Linked DNA regions of Homo sapiens: regions 2, 3 and 4 are each linked to region 1. The links are contacts of gene promoters, found by promoter capture Hi-C in blood cells and fetal thymus (Javierre and others, 2016). All regions are on one chromosome and are shown on one strand. Each heading gives the region's core, a stretch centred on a gene start or on the middle of the fragment in contact. The rest is flanking DNA. Distances are from core to core; before and after follow the strand shown.

Region 1 (3,710 bases), core at 828-3,327:
AGCTACTCAGGAGGCTGAGGCAGGAGAATCACTTCAACCTAGGAGGCAGAGGTTGCAGTGAGCCGAGATCACACCATTGCACTCCAGCCTGGACAACACAGCAAGACTCCGTCTCAAAAAAAAAAATATTTTAATGATGAAGGAACTATGTTGTAATTGCAACTCAAGGACGACCCACCCCACCACCATCAGGGAATTCGAGGGGAGACTGGCAGTTATCCAGGGATCCCAGAAGGAGTCAACTGGGAGTTAAGAGTCCTAACAACCCTAGAAAAAAACTTTCAAAGACACAGGTCTTCTCATTAATCTCCATAATCACAGAGGTCTTGCCTAAAAGGGCCCCCCTTGAGTACACAGCTCTGAAACTGGCTAACATCTTCTGCTGTCTCATTTGATTTTAAAGTTCACATTTGTGAAGGGCTCTATTGTACAACATGGTGACTATAGTTAATAACAGTGAATTTCAGTTAATAACCTGAATTTCACTGAGAGTAGGTCTGAAGTGTTCTCATCACAAAATGAGTGTATTAGCATCGCTCATAGCTCATTTAGCCATTACACAATGTATACACATTTCAAACCATATTGTATACCATAAATACATACAATTCTTATTGGTTAATTTTAAAAATAATAAAAGTTCTCTATCAGTCCCATAAATTACAATTTTCAGGCATCTGCAAAGGCAGCATGTTTTGGTTTAAATGTGGTCTTTCCAAATTTTATACGTATAAAATAAATGCATAAGTGTACTACATATGCAAAAACTAATACATAAATTTTATAAAGTCAATGCACGCGGGGTCACTGGGATGAACCAATTTCAGTGCCTGCAGTCTAATGTTTAAAATCAAAATGGTACAAGGTCACCACCAAAGAAATTGTTTAAGCCAATGTTTCTCAAACTAAAACCTTTGGACATACTCCCAGAATCCCCTGTAAAGAAATGTATACTGTACTCAAAGTTGAGAACCACTGACTTAGCATAAAGGGACCGTATTTCTTTTCTCTCCCACCCAGCACAGGCCCAGTGCTCAGCAGAAATTGGGGCTCCACAGTTCTGCCCAACACTGGGTCACTGCTGAGAAGTCTGCACCAGGCCTTCCTGCACCTTTCCACTGAGCAATGGAGTTTGTTTATTCATTTATTTATTTATATGGAATTTATTTATTTATTTTGGAGACAGGGTCTCACTCTGTCACCCAGGCTGGAGTGCAGTAGCGCAATCCAGGTTCACTGCAGCCCTAAACTCCTTGGGCTCAACTGATCCTCCCACCTCAGATACCCGAGTAGTTGGGACTACAAGCACGCACCACCACGCCTGGATAATTTTTTTTAAATGTTTTGTAGAGATGGGGTCTCCCGATGTTGCCCAGGCTGGTCTCGAACTCCTGGGCTCAAGAGATCCTCCCGCCTGCGCCTCCCACGGTGTGAGCCACCTTTGATCTTATTGCTATGATTTTTTTATTGATAAAAACTAATAAATATTCTGAGTCTCAAGAAAGCTTTCTGAAACTATCAAAGGGACCCAGGCGGCGCATCACTACCTGTGAGGCCGACCCCACTCACAGCACAGACTGCAAGTGAGGCTTACAGATGGGAAGTGCCCTAAGCGAGGTTAAACAGCTAGTTAGCAGCAGACACGGAACTAGAACCTAAGCCTGCTGTCCCAGCTTCGGTGCCCGTGCTCACAGCGGAAGCTGCCTCGGCTCATCCGTAAGGGCGCTGATTAGGGACGACAAAGACCTCACCCCACCGTCCCCGTCCCATTTCCGCCCTCCCAGATCCCCAACCTCCTTCGAGTCCTCTCCAAGTCGCCTCGCCTCGCTCCACTCCAGGCCTTAGCAAGCATTCCACATGCCTTTACCCCAACCCTACTGCCTGTCCCCCAAAAGATGCAGGCGGAAAAGACCCCAGGAAGCGAGCCCACTCCTCCCCACTGCTCAGCAACACCGCCTACGACGTTCTCAGTAGCCGAATCCCTTTCCAGGCGCATGCGCCCCCGAGGTGGGCGAGCGCCGGTGATGTCACGCATAGCGCCATCTCCGAGCTCCGAGAGTCTGCGACAGCAGCTGCCAGTGCGTCATCAGAGAGCGCCGGAAGCGGTCCGAGAATGAAGAGTAAGCGGGGCCGCGAAGTTGGAGAGGGTTGGGGACGTTAAGGGTCGGGGTCTTGGTACTGGTGGGTGAAATGGGTCCGGGCTACCTGTTGCTGCGGAGTCCTAACAGAACCGCTACAGGAATGGGCCCACCCTACCTAAGAAAAACTGAGGGCTGGAGCACGGGTTAGCCTGGCTCGACCTCTGAGCTAGGGAGGGATGTCAGGGCTGGAGGCAGGTTCTCCCGGAGGCTGCTCAGTGGTGTGCGATGCTAGAGGAGGGTTCCAGGCCTTGGCTCAACTTGGCCACTATCTCCCGGGGTGACCGCGGTCAAGATCCTGCTCCTTTCTGCGAGCTGGTTTCACACTCTTAACCTGATGCAAAGCGCCGAGAGCTGCTGGGGAATGATATCACTAACCCAAAGCTTTGGTCCTTAGGGGTAGAAGACATGTGCCAAGGAGGGGCGTGTAGACACCGTTAAGACTGGGCCTTCAATCAGAATTTTTATTTTTCATCTCTGCCACTTTCTACCTATATGATCAAGTAGATTGTCTCGGCATGTCTGAGCTTCAGTTTGCTCATGCACATAAGTGTAATGAGAAAAAATATGTGTACCTTGTAATGAGGTTTCTGGCAAGTAATGGATGTTCAGTAATTGTTAGATGTGTATTGTTGCAGAAAGACTTCCAAGTCTGTTACTAAGCACCTGTAACAGATGAAGCAAAGTTATCAGGCCCCGCAAGTTGCTCTCTACAGTTTATAATCCCCATCTTCCATTTGAGGGAGAACTAGATGCTATATATAAAACTTGCAACCACATTGGTTTGCTTGATCAAACAAACATACCTGGCTGGGTGTGGTGGGACACGCCTGTGGTCCCAGCACTTTGGGAGGCTGAGGCAGGGGGATCACTTGAGGCCAAGAGTTGAAGACCAACTTGGGCAACAACATAGCGAGACCCTGTCTCTACAAAAACTGGAAAAAAAAAAAAAGAATTAGCCAGGTGTGGTGGCACACACCTGTAGTCTCAGCTACTCAGGAGACTGAGGTGGGAGGATCACTTGAAACCAGGAGGTCGAAGTTGCAGTGAGCTATGATTGTGCCACTGCACTCCAGCCAGGGCAACAGAGCAAAACCCAGTATCAAAACAAACAAACAAACAACAAAAAAAAAAAACTTGTAACCACCTTGCATCAAACATTCTCAGGGAAGTACAAGAAAGCTGGAATTAAATTTACAGAGTATAGTGTAAATTACATTTTCTAGCTATTTAGCTCATAAACCAGGCCTTAGTAGTCCCATTCTTATTCCATTCACACCTGTACTCTGTCCCCAGTGCCATGGTTTTCTTCTTTCAAAAAATTAAGAAACAGAAGTGTGGAATTTATTTTAGAGGTTGAAACTTTATTGACCAATGTATATTTTGAGTTTAAAGGAAAAACTTGTATTTTATCAGTTCAGGACACCATCGATTATGTGACACATTATAATTTCATATTAAAATGTGAAGAATCTTTTTAAACATCTTACAGTTAACAAAACCTATTTCTAACCATCTACATCCTAGACAGCTATATCATATAACTTTTAATGAGTTACCTTGTTAGCAAGT
Region 2 (3,710 bases), core at 769-3,268, 3.0 Mb after region 1:
CCACTGTACTCCAGCATGAACAGCAGAGTGAGACCCCATCTTTTTTTATTGTTGTTGAGATGAAGTCTCACTCCATCACCCAGGCTGGAGTGCAGTGGCACAATCTTGGCTCACCGTAACCTCTGCCTCTGAGCTTCAAGCGATTCTCCTGCCTCTGCCTCCCAAGTAGCTGGGATTACAGGCACCCGCCACCATGCCCGGCTAATTTTTGTATTTTTAGTAGAGATGGGGTTTCACCATGTTGGCCAGGCTGGTCTCAAACTCCTGACCTCAAGTGATCCACCCACCTCAGCCTCCCAAAGTGCTGAGATTACAGGCATGAGCCACCATGCCTGGCCTAGACCCCATCTCTTAAAGTTTGTGGCAGGGCTGCAGTACTCAAACCATAAAGAAGTGGCCTATGGAAATGAGCTTTAAGCCACATTCCATGAACCGAAGGGCCTCTGAGCTGGGAGTGGATAGTGGGCACAGCCAGCCCCAGCTCTCCCTCTCAGTTGAGCCAAAGCATCTGTGCTCATTTGTTTTTAGATTTCTTAAAGGATTTCATTTGAAAGAAAAAAGAAACAAGTCCATGAGACCACTGTCCTGTGAACGTGAACTACTTTCTATTTGGGTAGGTAGGAAGAAGTGAGGATAGTTGCAAAGTTATAATTTCATTCCCCTTCCCCACCCAGAAAAATAGAACTGAGAGTCTTAAAACATGGAATCTGGCTGTAGCTTGGCCACAGTTACCTATGTCTCTTTAGCATAGCCTCCTGGATCTCAGCTTTATCTCTAAGAAAATGATATAGATTAGTCACATGGTCCTTCTAATTGCCTGAAATCCCACTATAAATTTCTAGCACCTGTCACGCAATAGGTACTTAAGAAATGTTGGTGATGGTGTTTGAACTGAGGCTCCACTCTGATGAAACTGTAAAGCTCACCTTCCAGCCTGGTAGGTTGTCACCTGTGTAATATAAAGCTGGTTCTTTGAGGGCAAAAGGGGATTCTACTTGAATGTAGCTGCAGCCTTATGTACAGCAACTACCATAATGCAGTTTGTATACCGCAGGCCCCATGTGGAGACACATACTGGATGGGTTCTTTCTCGTATGTTACATGGGAATGCCGACAGCTGTGTTTTAATTGTGTTTGACCTATGTTTTCGTTGTAGGGAAGCAGAAATGAGAAACAGTATCTTAGCCCAAGTTCTGGATCAGTCGGCCCGGGCCAGGTGTAAGCATCTTTGATTTCATTTCCATAAAGTTAGCTTGAGTTAGTTGAATGGGGTGATTAGATACCATTATTGCTATCACTAGATGAAATATTTGCTTAGGCTGAAAACACTTGAGATGTGTAAGAAGTGTGAAGTTTATAAACCTAGAGAACTGTACTTTAATCCCTAGTAAAAGTACCAGGTCACTTCTCTTACCAAGATGTTCTCCAGGTGTGTATTAGGTAAGATTTATAGGAAACAACTCATAGGGCCAATCACAAAATGTTGCTGGTAGTTGACATTTTGTGTCAACTGGTGATGGGGACTGGGGATGGGGGACTTAGGGGCTTTTTATATGTATTGTCAGTTTTAGTGTATGTTCAGAGTTGTTCATCATAAAAACCAAAACCTGTAGAAAGAAAAAATGAGACAGTCAGAATGAACTGGTATTTTCTGTATTTTAACTGGAAGCCCAGTTTGAGTGTAGAAAAGGCGGCCACAGGTGGATCACCACCATTATGTGTAATAGATAAACCGCTTTCCAGAGGGCAGTCATATATTTTAAGAAACAGGAAGCATGGTGCTTAGAATCTGAGAACCCAACTTTAATCTTGGCTGGGCCACTACCCCCATGTGCCCATGTGGAGATTGGCATGGGTGAACTTCAGTTTTCTCATTTTTAAGAGGAGTAACAATACTGTCTTGCCCTACACTGAGGGACAAGCTTGTGAAGTGCTTTGGAAAGGTCAATGCATAGTTTTAAGGTATAACATAAGTGCATTTGATTTTAATGGATTTTTTGCATATGTATTTTTTCTTTTTAGTAAGTAACTTAGCACTTGTAAAGCCTGAAAAAACTAAAGCAGTAGAGAATTACCTTATACAGATGGCAAGATATGGACAACTAAGTGAGAAGGTAAGCTTAGACAGCCTTGAGGAACTTTACTGTTACCTGCTTTATCAAAACATGGCTTCAAAAGGTCAGCTGCATCTTCACTGGATTACAGAATTCTTGCTGACTCTCAGAAGAAATTGTTGGAGAGAATAGTCATACCTACTTTAAAAGAGAATAAATTGCCTTTCCTAAATTCCTCTGCTTCGCTCCTTTCCTGGCGTTGCTCTGGAACCTTGTTGGTGTCTGTGACCCAATGACTGTTAGGGTCAGCTAGCTTCAATTGCCCCTGCACTGGAAGCAAGGTTTGTCAGTAACACCAATTAAAATACTACCAGTGTAAGTAGAAGGTGTGTTTTGCAGATGAGAAGGTGCTAAGATGCCTTGCTTATGTTCTCTGTGTTGCTGTAATACCATGAGGGGTATGTTGTGGCAAACCTGGCCTTTGAGATCAAGACGAACCCCACCTGCCCTGAGAAGCCGTCTGCTACCACCACAGCCTACCCGAATTGGTCCTGTCCCCTAAACCCCTCACACTGAGAACTGCTTGTGTGGGAGAGAGCTGGTTGGGTTGATCTTTTCCGAGTGTGACTTACCTCCTTCAAGGGGATGTTTAAGCTTCTCGGGCAGAAGTGGTGTGTCTATTCCTGACACCAAACACCGTGGTATATGTGGTTGTCACACTCAGCTAGTGATGATAAAGGTGTTCTTAAATATGTTAGCTTTCAGTTTTCCTGAGGAAGCAATTTTATGGATACTTCCCCCTCCTTCTCAAGTGAGGAATAGCAGAGCAAATTTTATTTGGAACTTAAACCAATAGTTATAACCAATAGTTTCAACCTCCTGCCTCACCACTGCTTCCTTCCTGAGCTCTTTCCCCACACCTCAAAAAGAGTACAAAGTGATTCCATCTGCAGAGGTAAATTCTTTGTTTAAAAAAGTACTGTTTTTCTTATCTTTTCTGGTTCTCCTAGGTATCAGAACAAGGTTTAATAGAAATCCTTAAAAAAGTAAGCCAACAAACAGAAAAGACAACAACAGTGAAAGTAAGTGTCCCCAGATGCTTGTGGCAAATGAAAAGATGGATACTTTAAAGATTAATGTTGAGTATACATCTACCACACATATTTTTCAGCCCAGAGACATTTTCCTTTTGTCAAACACGTGAAAGTTTGGGGAGAAAGGCTGAATCTGTTGGGGGAGGGTTCTAATTTTTATAGGCTCTTGACTCCATTCCCACCCTTTTAGTTCACGCTAAGTTGCTTTAAAGACACAAATGTCTTGCTAAAATTGGTAGAAATCTTTTCTCGGAAAATCTGAGTTATGCTTTATTAGAAATGTTCTGACACTCATTTAATTTTCCTCCCAGTTCAACAGAAGAAAAGTAATGGACTCTGATGAAGATGACGATTATTGAACTACAAGTGCTCACAGACTAGAACTTAACGGAACAAGTCTAGGACAGAAGTTAAGATCTGATTATTTACTTTGTTTATTGTCTATATGCCTTTTAAAAAAATAAACTTGTTATGCAAAATAAAACATTTGGGTAAGTTGTTTTAGTATCATAGCCAAGTGGCCAGATCTGTGTTTTGAATTTTTCCCCTTCCTACCAAAAGC
Region 3 (3,710 bases), core at 712-3,211, 2.8 Mb after region 1:
GCTGCACTCCAGCCTGAGTGACAGTGAGACCCTGTCTTGGGGGGAAGAAAAAAAAAGGGAGGGCATGCTAATAGAGGGAAAATGGCATAAGTAAAGGCATTTCAGCATGGATGAGCACGGGGTGTGTTGGGGAGAAGGCACTGACGTTGATGGCCTGTTTATTGCTATCTAGGAGTGATTTGGAGAACAATGCATGTAAGTCTGACATCATGATGTCCATCCGGCAAAGAAGAGAAATAAGAGCCACAGAAGTTTCTGAAGACTTTCCAGCCCAAGAAGAAAATGTGAAGTTGGAAAATAAATTGCCATCTGGTAGGTGATTTAAACTAAAGCAGCAATTTGGGTTGCTTTTATTTCTGCATATTAAAATGTCACTCTCCAATAGGATAAAAATTTGGTGGGACCTAACAATTGAAACTTGTTGTAGTACCCTGATATTCTAATTGCAATTTGATTAGATTGATTTTACAGTTATGATTTGACAAAAGATGAAAGAGCTTTGATTAGAAGTGTTTGTCAGCTGTCTGTTCATTAACTTACGGTTCTTCCAATCTCATCCTTTGACTCTCTAGAGTAATGGTCCCCCCACCCACACCCCAGATTTTAGTCTCTCTCTAATTTTTCTGGTCGTGTATACTATTTACACCAGGCAACCTTACCTTGGGTGAGTTTCCATTAAGGTAGTGAAAGGTGGATCAACATTTTTTAAAAATTCTTTATAATTAGTCAAATTCCTGAAGTTTTCTTTTGCTTTTTTTTTTTTTTCTTTTATTGGTGGGAAAAGTAATCAGAACTTGGTCAGTTGTTTGTATAATGGTAAAGACTTGCTAAGTGATGCATCAGATAGCATTAATTACCAACTTCTTGCTTCCTGAGTAGCTTTTGTAACTAAAGCATGGTCAGGATTTTAAAAGTTAACATGAAAATCTTCATACCCATTAACCATTTTGGATATCTGACAGAATTTACATTATTTACAGCCATGTTAATTCTTACCAGCCAGGCTAGTAAAGCAATTCAGGGAAACAGTTTAACAAAAGTAATCTGTAATGGGAGGTCATGACACCTGGCTCAGCCATTAGCGAGTGATTAACACGTTTTGGATAATAGTACTTTCTGAACACCTTAAACAATGCAAAGAAAAAGAAATATACTCCCATCCTGAAACTAACACCAGTGGCACTGTCTTGCTGTCTTAATGTCATATTCTGCACATGTATACCCATAAGCATTCGTATACAGTTTTGCAAAATTGGGATCCACGTGCTGTTTTGTAGCTTGCTATTTTTCTCTTATTATGTTATGAACATGTCATAAGCCAGTTAACGTATTTTTGAAATATCATCTATGTAAAGTATTTTTATAGCTGCCACTGTAGAAGTGAAAGGTTTTCTTACCATTTGCTAATACAGACAGAACTGTGATCAATTTCCTTGTGGCCATATGTTTGTTTAAAACTTTATTTCCTTGGGGCATGTCTTAGTCCATTTCTGTTGCTATAAAGGAATACTTGAGGCTAGGTGATTTATAAAGAAAAGAGGTTTCTTTGCCTCAGGGTTCTGCAGACTGTATGAGAAGCATGGCACCAGCATCTGCCTCTAGTGAGACCTCAGGAAGCTTCCAGTCGTGGCAGAAGACTTAGGGGAGCCAGTGTGTAGAGATCACATGACCAGAGTAGAAGCAATTTCCAGGGAACACAGGATGTCAGGCTCTTTTTTAACCAACCAGCTCCCCTAGGACTAACAGAATGAAAACTCAGTACTGCTAGAATCTCACCAACCTGTTTATAAGGGCTCTGGTTCCATCACCACACCACCTCCCATTAGGCCCCACCTCCAACATTGGGAATCACATTTCATCATGAGATTTGGAGGGGCCGAATAGTCAAACCACAGCAGGGTACATGCCTAGATTGGGAATTACTGGCCAAATGGGATGCTCATTTTGGTGGCTTTTACTCACTGCTGCCATGTTGCATTCCAGAGAGGCACCAATTTATTCTTCTAGCAGCAATGTTTGAAGATGTCTATTTTTTATACCCTTACCAAAACAGTATTAGCATTTTGAAAGCTGTCAAATTGGCCAAGATTTAAGTATAACTCACAGTTTTGATTTGCATTTCTTTAACATTAATGAATTTAAACATCTTCAGTCTGTTATTATTATTGGCCACTTTTTTCTATTGTACATTGCCTGTTCATGTCCTTAATCTTTTTCCTACTGCAGTATTCATCTTGACAGGACAATAAATTGTCCTGAAATAAAATAAATTGTCCTGAAAGTATTCATCTTATGTTAAGGGTATTTAAGCTTTCTTATATGTGCTATCCATATTTTGCCTAGTTTATATGTCCTTTAACTTGAGTTATGTTGGATTATTTATTCTGTGGGTTTTTCCCCCCAGAGCATTCCTGCAAAACCTGTGGGTTTAAAAAAAAAGTTTTAGGTAATCGGCCAGGTGCAGTGGCTCATGCCCGTAATCCCAGCACTTTAGGATCCCAGCTTGGGTGGGTGAATCACTTGAGGTCAGGAGTTCAAGACCAGCCTGGCCAACATGGTGAAACCCTGTATCTACTAAAAATACAAAAATTAGCCAGGCATGGTGGCATGTGCCTGTAGTCCCAGCTACTCAGGAGGCTGAGGTGGGAGAATTGCTTGAACCTAGGAGGCAGAGGTTGCAGTGAACCGAGATTGCACTACTGCATTCCATCTTGGGCAACAGAACAAGATCCTGTCTCAAAAAACAATAATTATTTTTTAGGTAATCAAGTTTTTAAAATAGCTTTTAAAGAATAAGCCACCAATTGTACCTAGATTATCTAAAAGATCGATTACGTCCTAGACACGTAACACATTTAGTCATCCATTTAACAGACTTCATAGTTAAATTACGGTTGTTAAACTGTGCCGGACAGAGGCCCTCAGTATTAAACATGAATAAGATAATGTATTTGTCTTCAAGAAGCTCACGTTGTAGTTGGCAGAATGGACACATGGACAGTTAGATACGGGGTAACAGTTGTAATAGAATGAAAACAGGTCTGTGGAATCAGAAAGGACCCTCCGCTGGAGACAGGAAAAGCTTTCCCAGTGACAGGCAGCTAGACTTAGCTTACTTGATAATCTGAAGTAGAACTATTACATTCTGATTTTTTTACTGACTTAGTTATTTATCTGTTCCATTTTTCCAAAAGGTTGTACCAGTAGAAGATTATGGAAGATTTTGTCATTGACAATTGGTGGAACCATTGCCCTTTGCATTGGACTTCTTACATCTGTCTACCTTGCCACGTTACATGAAAATGATTTATGGTTTTCTAATATTAAGGTATGGAGTTTCTTTGACCATTGTATCATTCACTCAGTGGGATCTCCAGTAGTAAGCCATGTGGATGAATGACCAAGGCAACACAGTTTTGCCATAAAGAATCCAATCTCTAGAAAGGTTGGACTATAGAGTGAAATAACTTTTGTGTTTATTATTTTAAAATAACATATTAGAATCTTTTTTTAAATTTTTCTTTATTATTTATTTATTTTTGAGATGGAGTCTCACTCTGTCACCCAGGCTGGAGTGCGGTGGCGCAATCTTGGCTCACTACAACCTCTGCCTCGCAGGTTCAGGTGATTCTTCTGGCTTAGCCTCCCAAGTAGCTGGGACTATAGGTGCGTGCCACCACACCCAGCTAATTTTTGTATTTTTACTAGAG
Region 4 (3,710 bases), core at 574-3,073, 2.8 Mb after region 1:
ATGGCTGAGCTAAAACAGTTTTGTTTCCTTTTTACAAAATAGCCCTAAATGCCTCCTTTTATTTTAATTCATTATGTTTCCATATCCCCTTTAAAGGAGACATTAAAACGTCTGATATGATTGGACCATAAATCCCTAATGAAAGGATGAAGTAAATACTACTCAGTAGCACCACCTGCAGTTAATATCAGTGTTGGAAGATGTCTTTTTTAGCACCGTCCTAAAAAGCAAACATTTCAAACTGTCCAAATGAGTTAACATTAAAATTCACAATTTTAATAAAAAGATTAAAGTGTCAGCTCAAAATTAAAATAACCACTTCAGACTTTACAGTATTAATGAATGTTTACTAGATTTTATGTTGCAGCATCTTTTCTTTGTGGCTCATGCTTTTTTTTTAGGGTTACATGCATGGATTTTTAAATTGCCTGCCATGCCTCTTTTCCTCCACCTGGCTCCATTTGCTTTTTTCTCTCAGTACTGTAGCAGTTCAAATGGCTGCATACTTATACCTGGATGGGTACTTTATTAACTCAATATTAGATATTTTGAAATCTGGTTGTCAGGCCAAAGAAAAAATTTTTAGCTCACAAATAAGGTAATAATAATTCATGCTTTGTTAAAACTTCTTTACCTATTTAGTAAACTTGTTAAACAAGAAGAGAGATTTGTGCCTCTGTGATCCTCAGTCTCTGCCATTCAGATAGCACAGATACCTTAGGGCATGTTTCAGCTTAACATTTGCTTGGCCAAAAGGCATGGCCTGCCTGTCTTGAGCTAGATACTGTGTTAGGTGCTGGGAGTACAGTGAAAGGCATCACTGCCCTTCAGGAATCCAACTCAGTGAAGAAGACAGAACGAGGCTGATGGGTATGTCAGCAGATACCGCAGGAGCTCAAATAGAGCCGCAAGCAAAGCCCTTTCGTATGGTGTTACTCCATGAAACCTAATTAAATTGTTTTTTATTGGAAACCTATAATTTGCCAAGCGCTGGGGATTCAGTCTAAACAAAACAAGCAGATCCTTATCCTCAGGGAATAGACAGCTTAGTGGCAGGGCAGAGATTTTACCCAGACATGCAGGTAAAGTACAGACTTTGCTAAAGGAAAAATATAGGACTTACTAAACTATGCTGTGAGGTTCTAGCATTTCCAATTTGTAGATGAGAAAACTGAGACTTCAAGAGGCAAAATAATTTACCCATGATCATACTGGTAGAAAGTGGCAGAGCGAGGACTAAGCCCAAGTTTTTGAACTTTAAATCCAATATTCTTTCCATTGGAAACAGTTGCTTGAAGTAGCACAGGCTCTCATTCTGTGCTATATTAAGTTTTTCCATCTGTCAGTTTTATTAGTTGTCATTGATCTGTAATATTTCTCACACAAAACCATTATCCAATATTTCACACTTCATTTTTTAGGGTTTTTTTAAAACTGTATTTGGAACAGTGCCATTTATAATCAAGTCCAAGTTTTTAACCTACCAATTAAGAGCAATACTTAGATTATAATTATGATTAGTGTGTATATTAACGTTATAGATTTATACCAGGAAATTAGGACATTTTGTTCTGCTTGGCAGTAGTTATTAGCAAAAGAAAATTTCAATTTTAGAAACCGTAAATTTAACTTAAGGATTTTCTTTGTTGAAATTTCAGTGTGGGTTTTCCTTTGTATAATACCACGGATTTTACTTTTATGCGGTGTATACAGGTGTTCTACCTAAGCTTTCTTCCTGCCAAGAGACACACAGTTCTTCCTGCTCTGCCTTTTTCATGAGCTTCCATGCTTGCTTTGTTTCTGAATATAAAGCAGAGTGTGAATAGCCTGTGGACTGTATGCTGACAGACAAGTACATGAAGCGTTGAATATCTTCAAGAAATCGTTTTATATGATCAAGTCACTCAACTCGTGTTGACATAAGCTTACCCCAACTTGAATTACTCAGCCCTGTTGTTGCAGAGTGAGTTTAGTAACATGGCTACTTTTCGTTGGATCCATGTCTCCTGCGTTTCGGAGAGCTGCATATTCATGTCAGTCATAACCTTTGTCCCTGTAACCTGTCAGTTAACTAGAAAGAATTATACATTGCATAGCACTTAAAAATTTGCGGCCGCTTTTCCTTTCTTGTTGCGTTGGTAGCTGACGTTTAGTGGTAAACAAAGAAAATGCACTGGGTGAAAAGGCCTTAGGCTTTTTTTTTGTAGGGTGAGAGTGGGGGAGAGATCTCTTGCTCTGTTGCCCAGGCTGGTCTCCAGCTCCTGGCCTCCGGCAGTCCTCCCACCTCAGCCTCCCAGAGTACTAGGATTATGGGCATGAGCCACCACACCTAGCCAGGCTTTTTATATTGAGTTGGTTATATATGCTTCATAGCCACACTTTATAATATTGGAGTATAGTATTAAATTACAGCTTGTTGTCAAGTCAGTGTTTCTGTAAGACAGTATATCCAATATTGGTTAGAGTAACACCTATTTGGTGATACAGATCAACAGGGTGTCTCTGATTAATTTAGCTCCTACATAGCCAGAAGCAAGTTCATTATGACTTAGAATATTGTACATGGTTATGCAGGAATCATCCCAACCTATCTGTGTTTATAGGTCAGATGATGTTCAGTTTATATCTGCTGATAGTGTATATGCAGGAAAACCTATAAAACCACTTCAGACTTGTTAAAACAGTGAGAAAGCCGTGATTGAAATATTAATACAACTGTGTGGTATAAATTTTCATTTACAATGGAATGTAAATGCTGTCATTTGAATCTTGTCAAAGCCTGCTACTAAAACTCTGAAATACCTTGTCTAGGGAATAAGTCTTCAGTCCAGAAACAATATAGATGTGATGTGTGTGATTATACAAGTACAACATATGTTGGTGTCAGAAACCACAGGCGAATCCATAACTCTGATAAGCCGTACAGGTAAGTGTTATGATTCTAGAATTTTAATGTTTGTATTAAAATATTTTATATTAAAGAAATAAAATGAAATAAAAATGTATAGCACTTACTGAAACACAGGTTAAGAAGTAAGAAATTTTCACTAATTGGTTTTATATTTTGTTGTTTTATATATTTACTTATTTATTTTTTGAGTCAGTGTCTTGCTGTATTGCCCAGGCTGGAGTGCAGTGGTATGATCACAGCTCACTGCAGCCTCGAACTCCTGGCCTCAAGGGATCCTCCCACATCAGCCTCCCAAAGTGCTGGGATTGCAGGCGTGAGCCACTGCACCTGGCTGGTATTATGTCTTGTTTGATTTGTTAAGATGTGAACTTTAAGCTTGAATCTTAGGACAGTAGGCATTTTGTCTAGTTGATACATAGGAAATTGTCTTTATCTGTCAATTTTATGTTTTCATTTCATATGGGTATAAATTTCATAGCAATTTTCAATGCCTTAGAGTTCATTTCAGTAATTTGGCAGTAAGGTACTCAGTATTCAGCAAAAGATCCTTAAAACTTAAAGGCAATAAAATTTTCTATGAAAGAGTCCATTTTTCAAAATTAAGCTAGTATGTGTAGAATAAGTCATTTAATTTCATTACTTGATTTTTCCCAAAAGCAAATTCAGATATATATTTCAGAAAATATAGGCATTCTCAGTGATAGTGCTAGGCAATGCGCATGAACTTTCACCCCCTTGTCAAAACTTAGCAGGTTTAACTCTCTCCCCAGATTCTGTAGATATGATACAAGTGAGTGTG

The links. The method cuts DNA at HindIII sites, captures the fragments that hold promoters and counts their contacts. A CHiCAGO score of 5 or more calls a contact.
Region 2: a contact is called between a fragment that was not itself captured here and the fragment with the promoter of POP4 in region 1, in 1 of 17 cell types (total B cells). The highest score is 7.5, in total B cells.
Region 3: a contact is called between a fragment that was not itself captured here and the fragment with the promoter of POP4 in region 1, in 1 of 17 cell types (monocytes). The highest score is 5.7, in monocytes.
Region 4: a contact is called between a fragment that was not itself captured here and the fragment with the promoter of POP4 in region 1, in 1 of 17 cell types (erythroblasts). The highest score is 5.7, in erythroblasts.

The regions. Positions count from the first base shown.
Region 1 is chr19:29,604,206-29,607,915 of GRCh38, forward strand. POP4 (POP4 ribonuclease P/MRP subunit) reads left to right here and starts at 2,078. Exons shown (of 7, transcript NM_006627.3): 1 at 2,078-2,120. The coding sequence starts at 2,114. RefSeq lists an enhancer at 1,731-2,220. The HindIII fragment of the contact is 1,017 bases long and covers 1,504-2,520 here.
Region 2 is chr19:32,583,794-32,587,503 of GRCh38, forward strand. It overlaps PDCD5 (programmed cell death 5), which reads left to right. Exons shown (of 6, transcript NM_004708.4): 3 at 1,157-1,218; 4 at 2,023-2,114; 5 at 3,065-3,136; 6 at 3,460-3,660. The coding sequence ends at 3,507. Among named protein-coding and RNA genes, the nearest start is that of PDCD5, 4.5 kb to the left of the region's middle. The HindIII fragment of the contact is 197 bases long and covers 1,921-2,117 here.
Region 3 is chr19:32,408,045-32,411,754 of GRCh38, forward strand. It overlaps DPY19L3 (dpy-19 like C-mannosyltransferase 3), which reads left to right. Exons shown (of 19, transcript NM_001172774.2): 2 at 173-312; 3 at 3,195-3,328. The coding sequence starts at 210. Among named protein-coding and RNA genes, the nearest start is that of DPY19L3, 4.1 kb to the left of the region's middle. The HindIII fragment of the contact is 693 bases long and covers 1,616-2,308 here.
Region 4 is chr19:32,357,693-32,361,402 of GRCh38, forward strand. It overlaps ZNF507 (zinc finger protein 507), which reads left to right. Exons shown (of 7, transcript NM_001136156.2): 5 at 2,812-2,926. Among named protein-coding and RNA genes, the nearest start is that of ZNF507, 14 kb to the left of the region's middle. The HindIII fragment of the contact is 197 bases long and covers 1,726-1,922 here.